2 separate regions of the Homo sapiens genome follow, and region 1 is linked to region 2. The links are contacts of gene promoters, found by promoter capture Hi-C in human tissues and cell types (Jung and others, 2019). All regions are on one chromosome and are shown on one strand. Each heading gives the region's core, a stretch centred on a gene start or on the middle of the fragment in contact. The rest is flanking DNA. Distances are from core to core; before and after follow the strand shown.

Region 1 (5,332 bases), core at 377-2,876, 130 kb before region 2:
GAAACAAAAACTGTAATAGTTATGGGCATTTATTCTGTGTGTGTGTGTATGTGTACTGAATATTTGTTTTCTTCTCCTCTGTCATCCCCCGTATCTAACATAAGATGTATTAATAATTGTTAATTTCAGGCAGGGGACAGTGGCTCAGGTCTGTAATCCCAGCACTTTGGGAGGCCAAGGCAGGCAGATCACCTGAGGTCAGGACTTTGAGACCAGCCTGGCCAACATAGTGAAACCCTGTCTCTACTAAAAATACAAAAATTAGCCAGGCTTGGTGGCACATACCTGTAATTGCAGCTACTCGAGGGGCTGAGGCATTAGAATCCCTTGAACCCGGGAGGTGGAGTTTGCAGTGAGCCAAGATTGTGCCACTGCACTCTAGCCTGGGCGACAGGGCAAGACTCTGTCTCAAAAAAAAAAAGTAATCTTAATTGATTCCTCAAATATCCACCCTATTCTTTTTTGTGTTTTTTCTCCTAAATGTCTTTCTAGACCTTCATGCGGTGACGATTATCTATTTACTTCTTAAAGCAAAGAACTCAGAACTGAATGCATTCTCCCAAGCATTTGATCAGTAAGAAAGAGGTCACATCTGGCCGGGCGCGGTCGCTCATGCCTGTAATCCTGGCACTTTGGGAGGCCACGACAAGTGGATCACCTGAGGTCAGGAGTTCGAGACCAGCCTGACCAACATGTAGAAACCCCGTCTCTACTGAAAATACAAAATTAGCCGGGCGTGGTGGCGCATGCCTGTAATCCCAGCTACTCCAGAGGCTGAGGCAGGAGAATCGCTAGAACCCAGGAGGCAGATGATGCAGTGAGCCGAGATCACACCATTGCACTCCACCTTGAGCAACAAGAGCAAAATTCTGTCTCAAAAAAAAAAAAAAAAGTCACATCTATTACTGTCTCTCTCCTAATGCAGTCTACAGTCTCATCTTTCTGGCTGTCACTTCACACTGTTATTTCACACTCAGCTTCTGGTGGACTAGAAGCTCAACTTCTCCCATGCTCCTCCTGATCACTCCAACCCATTAGAGATCTCCACACACTTCCCTTTTATTTAAGTATCCATATACTTCTCTATCACTTTCCACATTAGTGTCCATCTTTCTCTACAAATCTCCATGGTGTAAGTTTTTCACCATCTGACCTGTGTCTCTCTTCCTCCCTTCAGCAACTTTGCTAATAATTTCCCATTCTGATTTGTGGCCTTCAAGTGACTTTTTTTTTTCTCTGCCTTCCAAGGAAGCTTTCCTTATGGATTGACTTAAGGGATAAGCTGACAATGCCCTAATTTATAATAAAGGTTTCCTAAATACCTCAAGCCCTAATATTATCTTACCTGTTATTTCCCTGCAGAGACTCGTAGGAAGACAAAGCATAGAAATGAAATGCAGAGGGCAAGAGAGGTCCACACTGACCCACCTGTTGGCTACTGTTGATCAAAACAAGCCTTTTCTGAGGTGCTCACCAGACTTCCTTCCCTAAGCCTGGAAATTTCCATTTACGTTACATTTACTGTGGAACGGCATAGAAGAAATTGCCCCAACGCAGGCATTGTTGTTTGCACTAATTACCCTAATGGCAGAATATCACCAGGACCAATGGGACACATGTGTGTTCATATTGTGAGCTCCATCAACACACATCAGGACAGATTAAGTAACTGAACTTTAGCCTCTACTAGTTGGACCTTTGAATCACACATATGCTTCCTCTGGCTCTATATGTATATTTGAGACAACCCTCCATTCCAATATCGGAGCTTGGGCAATAGGAATTTCCATTAATATTACTTTATTAAGAAGGTAAACTGAATACCAGTTTAATCATGAATGTGCCCAGAGTCAAAAGAAAATCTGTTATGGTTTTCCATTGTTTTGGATCTCTCAAGGCACTCTCTTCTTAGCTTTACACTTCCTTCCCTACTTAATAAAATATGAATTTGGCTGATGCAGTCAGGAAGCACTTTTCTGACTGCATAAATGTCTTCTCAATAGTAATCATGGGGGTTAGAGTAAGAACATTCTTGGTCTGATGTGAGCCAATCATAAGAAAAAACAGACATCATCTGGGAGAAATAAAACATCCCCCTAACCCAGAGGACCTATGTCAGCTGAAGCAAATTGTGGACACTAAATAGAATGGCGTCAGGGATTCCATCCCAGAGGACACATCTTGCATGGCTTCTGGAGACCATTACTCAAGATGTCAATTAGACTGTGCTGTATGCACTGAGATAAGCATCCCCAAAGGGCTTTACTTGGAGTTTGTTCCAAGTGATCAGGAGAATGAGATATTTTGCGGAGTGAGCCTGAAGATAACAGGAGAATATTCTCCTCAGGGGCCAATTAACTGTGGAGATAAAAAATTCTTAGAGTCCCTTGATTGTTTTTCACTTGGGAACCCAGATTTCTGTAACGCCTTTCCACGCAACCCTTTTGAGAAGACAGTCTGAGTAATAATATCTAGTCTCTTTTGCCCACAGGACCCTTTTGAGGGTTTCCATGTGCCATATCATAGGAAAGAAGTCAAGGAATAGAGGCAGGCAGTTCCCATCCTAGCTGTTGATCGTACTCCAATTTCATAGACTACATGAATATAACATGTCAAGAGATTTCAGGTCGAGTGCGGTGGCTCACACCTTTAATCCCAGCACTTTGGGAGATGGAGGCAGGTGGATTACTTGAGGTCAGAAGTCTGAGACCAGCCTGGCCAACATGGCAGAACCCTGTCTGTACTAAAAATACAAAAATTAGCCAGGCATGGTGGCACACATCTGTAGTCCAAACTACTCGGGAGACTGAGGCAGGAGAATCACTTGAACCCGAGAGGTGTAGGTTGCAGTGAGCTGAGATCGCACCACAGCACTCCAGCCTGGGTGACAGAGTAAAACTTCATCTCCAAAAAAAAAAAAGAAAGAAAGAAAGAAAAAGATTTCAGACACAGAGGGAAAAGGAAAAAATGGCATAACCCTACCTCTCCTTCTTATGCACTCCGATATCATTCTCATACCCTGCCCTTCCTTTCCATTATAGGGATATGTTGACCTCTTCTTTGTTTCTCCATCTCAACTCAAATCCTAAAATGTTTTGCTTCACTGATATTCGCTGGTTGTTTAAAATTGTGTAGCACTCTCCCCAACTCTCTCTCACTCCTGCTTTCTCCATGTGACCTACCTGCTCTCACTTTGCCTTCTACGGTGAGTAAAAGCTCCCTGAGGCCTCCCAAGAAGATCATCGGACACAAGCACCAGGCTTCCTGTACAGCCTGCAGAACCATGAGCCAATTAAACCTCTTTTCTTTATACATTACCCAGCCTTGGGTACTTCTTATAGCAATGGAGGAATAACCTAATACAGATTGCAAATAATTTCTCTCATTCAATAGGTGGGCTTTTTATTTTTATTTTTTATCGTTTCTTTGCTGTGCAGAAGCTTTTGAGTTTGATGTCTTCCCACTTGCCCGTTTTTGCTTTTGTTGCCTTCTTTTGGTGTCATACCCAAGAAATCATTATAAAGGCTAATGTCAAGAAGCTTTTCCCTTATGTTTTCCTCTAGGAGTTTTATGGTTTCAGGTCTTACATTTTGGTCTTTAATTCATTTTATGCTGATTTTTGTGTATGGTGTAAGAGAGGGGTTTAATTTCTTTGTTTGCATGCGGATATCCAGTTTTCCCAAAACCAGTTATTAAAGAGACTATCTTTTCTTTTTTTTTTTTTGAGACGGAGTCTCACTGTTTTGCCAGGCTGGAGTGCAATGGCGTGATCTCGGCTCACTGCAACCTCTGCCTCCCAGGTTCAAGCAATTCTCCTGCCTCAGCCTTCCAAGTAGCTGGGATTACAGGCACATGCCGACATGCCCAGATAATTTTTGTATTTTTAGTAGAGACGGGGTTTCACCACGTTGGCCAGGATGGAAAAGAGACTATCCTGTCTTTATTGTGCATTCTTGGCACACTTGTTGAAGATAAGCTGACTGTATATGCATGGGTTTATTTCTGCACTGCCTATTCTGTTCTGTTTGTCTATCTGTCTGTTTTTATGCCAATACTGAAGCGACATCATTTGTCTGGGGAAATACCCAAGGTTCGTTGTCTTGTGCTAAGGAAATCAAATATGAGGACACATACAAGGAGTGGGTTTAAGAGCAGAACTTTAATTAAAGTGAAAGAAAGAAGACAGAGCTTCCTCATGCAGAGGAAGGGAACCAAAGTGGGTTTCCAGGTTTGGGGTGAGATGCAGTTGACTTTATAGAGGGGCTTAGAAAGGCAGTGTCTGATTTTCATAGGGCCCATGGGATTGGTTGGACCAGGTGTGCCATTTACATAGCCCGTGATTAGGCTGGCCATCCCACCCTAATCTTTTATTATACAGGTGGGATCTCCACCTGGCCAGCACCATGACATCTGCACATTTGGCAACAAAGAGAAGGGAGGAGAAAACCTCCATGTTGGATGTACCTGGCTTCCAGGTATCTCTTTGGTATCGGCACGGCTGCCAGTATTCACCTATGCAAGCTTCCAGCTTGTGTATCAATGCTTGCAGCTTGATTTTTCAGGTTGATTTTTGTTAGAAAAGAAATGATGTGGGGGCTGCTTTTTATTAAAAGGAAATTCCACTGAGAATTCTTTTACCCTTACTAACTGCCTAAATAATTCCTTTTTAACTTCTATATCAGTATCATGCTGTTTTGATTATTGTAGCTATGGAATATAGTCTTAAATCAGGACTTGTAATGTCCCCAGCTGTGTTTTTCTTGCTCAAAATTGCTTTGGCTATTTGAGGCCTTTTGTGGTTCCATGTGAATTCTAGGATTTTTTTCTATTTCTGTAATAAATACCATCAGGATTTTGATAGAGACTGCACTGATTCTGTAGGTTGCTTTGGTAATATGAACATTTTAACAATATTATTCTTCCAATTCATTAACATGGAATGTCTTTTCATTTATTTGTGTTTTCTCCATTCCAAAAACAACATAATACACATTCTTATCATCTGCAATGGCACATACTCTAAAATCAACCAATCAGCCATAAAACAATTCTCCACAAATTCAAAAAAACCAAAATCATACCAACCACACTCTCAGACCACAAAACAATAAAAATAGAAAACAATAATAAGAATAGCAATCAAAACTAAACAATAACATGGAAATTAAACAACCTGCTACTTAATGACTTCTAGGTAAACAATGAAATGAAGGCAGAAATCAAGAAATTCTTTGAAACTAGTGAGAACAAAAGATATAATATACCAAAATCTCTGGGACATGGCCAAAGCAGTATTAAGTGGAAAGCTTATAGCACTAACTGCCCACATCAG
Region 2 (4,975 bases), core at 2,374-4,873:
CTATAATCCCAACACTTTGGGAGGCCGAGGTGGGCGGATCGCTGGAGGTCAGGAGTTCGACACCAGCCTGGCCAACATGGCAAAATCCCATCTCTACTACAAATACAAAAACTAGTCAGGCAGGTGGCACACGCCTTTAATCCCAGCTACGTGGGAGGCTGAGGCAGGAGAATCGCTTGAACCTGGGAGGCGGAGGTTGCAGTGATCCCAGCCTCGGTGACAAAAGCAAAAACTCCGTCAAGAAGAAAGAAGAAGACTCAGTAAAATGGGACCTTTGGAATCAGATATAAGACTTGGGTTTGTTTTTTTTGTTTTGTTTTGTTTTTTTTAAGACAGAGTTTCGCTCTTATTGCCCAGGCTGGAGTGCAATGGTTCAATCTCGGCTCACCGCAACCTCTGCCTCCTGGGTTCAAGCGATTCTCCTACCTCAGCCTACTGAGTAGCTGGGATTACAGGCATGCACCACCATGCCCAGCTAATTTTGTATTTTTAGTAGAGGCGGGGTTTCTCCGTGTTGGTCAGGCTGGTCCCGAGCTCCTGACCTCAGGTGATCTGCCCGCCTTGGCAGCAGCACCCCATCTGGAGTGGCCACTGCCATGATGCTGGCTGCAGTGAGTGAGGCATAGCTGGGATCGCAGCACTCCACAGAGCTGGAGGGAGCTGGGAACACATGGAAGCCCCCACTCCTTCCAAGTTGGAGGGACAGGAGACCCTCCCTCCCAGGAGTAGCTGCAGCCACCCAGTCACAGCCGCAAACCCGGGCTCCCCTTCAGCATTGACTCCACCAGCTTTCACAACACAGAAGTCAAACTTAGGCAACCACAGTTTCTAGGGTGCCCTTCAGGAACTTTTATTTGTTCAGGGCAGCCAGCCAATTTTTAAGCACAATGTCTCTTTGTAATCATAAATCATTAGTTTCATGATTCTTTCAACACTTTCATCTTAGAGTCCTTTCAAAACTCTTGGGTGGATACCACCTGATCTTGTCAGCTGAGCTTGTTTGCTGACAGGTCTAGAACCCTGGGGTTACAAACGTTATTGCCTATATTCCCTCTGACTATCTGTGGGACCAGTAATCTCATTTCTTGGAATCCATCCTTAGGAAGTAATCAAAGATGTCGAGGCCAGGCGCGGTGGCTCACACTTGTAATCCCAGCACTTTGAGAGGCTGAGGTGGGTGGATCACTTGAGGCCAGGAGTTCGAGACCAGCATGGCCAACATGGTAAAACCCCATCTCTACTAAAAATACACAAATTAGCCAGGCATGGTGAGTGCACACCTGTAATCCTAGCTACTTGGGAGGCTGAGGCATGAGAATCACTTGAGCCCAGGAGGCGGAGGTTGCAGTGAGCTGAGATCACGCCATTGCACTCCAACATGGCAACTGAGGGAAACTCTCTCAAAAAAAAAGAAAGAAAAGAGGCCAGGTGCAGTGACTCACACCTGTAATCCTAGCACTTTGGGAGGCCGAGGCTGGTGGATCACTTCCTGCCTCTGCCACCCCTGAGACAGCAAGAGCAACCCTTCCTCTTCCTCCTCAGCTTACTCAGTGTGAAGACGATGAGTATGAAGACCTTGATGATGATCTATTTCCACTTACTGAATAGTAAATATATTTTCTCTTCCTTAAAAAACAGTGTTCACATGATATGAATGTAGCAGATACTTCCAGGATACCAGCCTCCTCTTCAATACAACTGCAACTATGGTTTTGAACAGTGTTTAAAATAATATCAATAAATATTTATTTGTATATGAAAACAGGAAAAAGGTAAACTAAAGCCATGGGGATTGTGTTAGGGTGGAGAGATTACCGGTAATTATTTTTCTCCATTTTGCAAATTTCCTTTAATGATACTGTTGTTGCTTCTTTTTTGGATACAGAGTCTAGCTCTGTCCCCAGGCTGGAGAGCAGTGGCACGATCTCGGCTCACTGCAGCCTCCGCCTCTGGAGTTCAAGCGATTCTCCTGCCTCAGCCTCCCAAGTAGCTGGGACTATAGGCGTGTGCCACCACGCCCAGCTAATTTTTGTATTTTTAGTAGAGACGGGGTTTCACCATATGGGCCAGGATGATCTCAATCTCTTGACTTCGTGATCCACCCACCTTGGCCTCCCAAACTGCTGGGATTACAGGCATGAGCCACCGTGCCCGGCCCTTTTTTTCTTTTTTGAGATGGGATCTTGCTCTGTGGCCCAGACTGGGGTGCAATGGCACAATCATAGCTCACTGCAGCCTCAACCTCCTGGGCTCAATCTATCCTTCTACCTCAGCCTCCCAAGCAGCTGGGACCACTGGCACACACTACCCTGCACCCAGCTAATTTTAGTATTTTTTGTAGAGAGAGGGTCTCATTACGTTGCTTAGGCTGGTCTCCAACTCTTGGGCTCAAGAATCCTCCCGTCCCAGCCTCCCGAAGTGCTAAGATTACAGGCTTGAGTCATCGTGTCTGGCCCTGTCATTGCTTTTTAGTTTTCAAACATTTTTTAAAAAGTAAATCTGGCCGGGCACGGTGGCTCACGCCTGTAATTCCAGCACTTTGGGAGGCTGAGGCGGGTGGATCACAAGGTCAGTAGATCGAGACCATCCTGGCCAATATGGTGAAACCCTGTTCTCTACCAAAAATACAAAAATTAACCAGGCATGGTGGTGTGCGCCTGTAGTCCCAGGTACTCAGGAGGCTAAGGCAGGAGAATCGCTTGAACCTGGGAGGTGGAGGTTGCAGTGAGCCAAGATGGTGCCACTGCACTGCAGGCTGGGTGACAGAGCGAGACTCCATCTAAAAAAAAAAAGTAAATCTCTCCAAGCAGTAAGAGTCATGCAACCAAGCTACTGAGTTTCTCCCATGAACTTGTCTCGGAACATAGTGGAAAGTCACAACCATTAAAGCCTGTAGTCCCCCCCACCCTTGCACAACGTGGCCCCCTCTTATGCGTGCCTTACCCTGCAAGGCAAAGATGAAGGCTGTAACTGTGGTAGGTTGTGAAAGCACTTTGAAGGTAAAAGTGTCTGTTGTTACTCTGAAAACTCCTTTTAAACGGCTATAATAGCATATGCCACATGAGCAAAGCACAGAACCTTATAACTATGCTTGCTTGTGGAAAGACATCCCTTGTCCACGGGCCAAGTATTTGAAAATACCACTCCATATAGCTCCAGGGCCCTGAGAGAAGCTACCGTGGCAGCTTTGGGAAACCAGCCACCCTTGGCTTCACTTTGATCTTCCTCAGTCTACATCCTTGTTTCAGTTCCTTTGCCACAGACATACAATTACCAAGTACTATATTGCTTGATAATAACTATAATTACTACAAGGACTGCCTGAGATGAAAAAGACAGGTGAAATCGAACTTTCACATGGACTGGTGTCTGAGCTGGAGAGTCTGTTTGAGTTTGAGTAGGGGAAAGCCTGAAACCCCCCACCACCTGCTCCCGTTAGTCCCTGCATTAACTAGGGGCGGACTGGGACCTGATCCTCCAAGCTGGAGGCTTGAAAACTCAAGGGCAGGCGCCTGGTCCAGCGATTCGGAAACCGAGATGCAAAGTCCTCCCGCGCTCCTAGAGAGGACCCGGAAGCGCGGCGCGGTCCCGGAAGACGAGGTGGTGACACGCTTCCGGCCTTTGTGACTCATTGTGTCTGTGTCGAGGCGTCGGGAGGGCCTAAGTCCGTGTGCGGTGCCCTTCGGCCGGCCTGAGCCCCAGAGTCAGCTCCCCTTTCTCGCCCAGCGCCCCCAGGCCGCTCCCGGGGCTCACGGTGAGACTTGGGGCCGGCCTCTGGGGTGGGAGGGCGGGGCCGCAAGGGTGTGTGCGCGAGGGTGGGCTCCGCAGCTGCGGCCCTGGGACCCCCTCCAGGCGGCCCCGCTGTTGTGCGAAGAGAGTCCATGCCCCTGCCTCCTGGCCGGGCCCGGCCGTAGAAAGCGCCGTTCTTCCTGGGAGACGTCCCCGCCCCACCCCCAGGATCAGGCGGGGAGGGGGCGAGGGTTTCAGTGGCTGAGGGTGCCCGGAGACCCGGGGAGAAGCCGTCTGTGGGCCCCTCTCCCGCAGTGTCGTCATCGCCCTTTGACGTTTCTGCAAACGGGGTCGCGAGCGAACCGACCCCGGTCTTGATTTTTCTGCTCTCCCTTAGTCGCCATTTGCTTTGATTCCGGTGAGGTGTCTTTTTCCCCCCCCGGTTCCTTCGGGACCTCGAGGTGAAATGAGCGGAAGGATGAGAGATGGACACATTTTGAGGTGCCGCATACGTTTCCAGACCTGCCTTTCCTTCTCCCACCCTCATCACTGAGCGGTGATTAAAGAGTATTTGAAGCCTAGTCATAGTGGATAAATAGGTGATTGGGATCTAGTAGAGATTATATACACCCCACTCTTTCAGCTTGATGGAATGCTTTGAAGGCTTTGGAAAAGAGCTGTCCGGGACGTTAGGTGGATTTTTCAATTCTGGATAGTTGCTCTGTTTGACATGGAGTGGGGTGAGAAGTGAAGGGAATTTGTGGAAATTGCACTGTGTCACTAGGAGACTGATTAGCTGAGTGACCTTGGATAAGACGAGACACTCACCAAGTCTTAATTTCGTCATCAATAAAAACTAACTGGATTTTCTCAAAAGGCCCTTCCGACTTCGAAATGATTTGGTCAATGTAATTGAAGAATTAACTACAGTTTAGCTTGACACTCCTCCATCCCTCCCCTCCCTTTCCTGCAGTGCCCCCTGTACACAGTAAGATACTTTCATTATAGAGAGTGGCTGTTCCATGGCCTGGGACCAAAGAAAGCATTTATTGTACGGGCCAGTGCTAGGCGGATTGGAGGCGGTCAATAAATACTTGTTGAATTGAATTGTGGAGAATTCATTGTAACCACATCAGCAAAGCACTGTTAGTATATATGCTGAACAAATGTGGAGAAATCGCTGTTTTACATAGGAAACCATGGTGATTTGCCCCAGAATGTGTATCCAGGTTTGTATCTTCTCTGA

The links. Contacts are between HindIII fragments. The study calls those that stand out against the background at their distance.
Region 1: a fragment that was not itself captured here is called in contact with the fragment with the promoter of ZKSCAN1 in region 2 in 1 of the 25 tissues and cell types used here (pancreas).

What each region holds. Positions count from the first base shown.
Region 1 is chr7:99,879,303-99,884,634 of GRCh38, forward strand. No RefSeq gene overlaps it. Among named protein-coding and RNA genes, the nearest start is that of OR2AE1, 4.9 kb to the left of the region's middle. The HindIII fragment of the contact is 3,725 bases long and covers 1-3,489 here.
Region 2 is chr7:100,011,973-100,016,947 of GRCh38, forward strand. ZKSCAN1 (zinc finger with KRAB and SCAN domains 1) reads left to right here and starts at 3,624. Exons shown (of 6, transcript NM_003439.4): 1 at 3,624-3,754. RefSeq lists a silencer at 3,710-3,879. The HindIII fragment of the contact is 22,044 bases long and covers 1-4,975 here.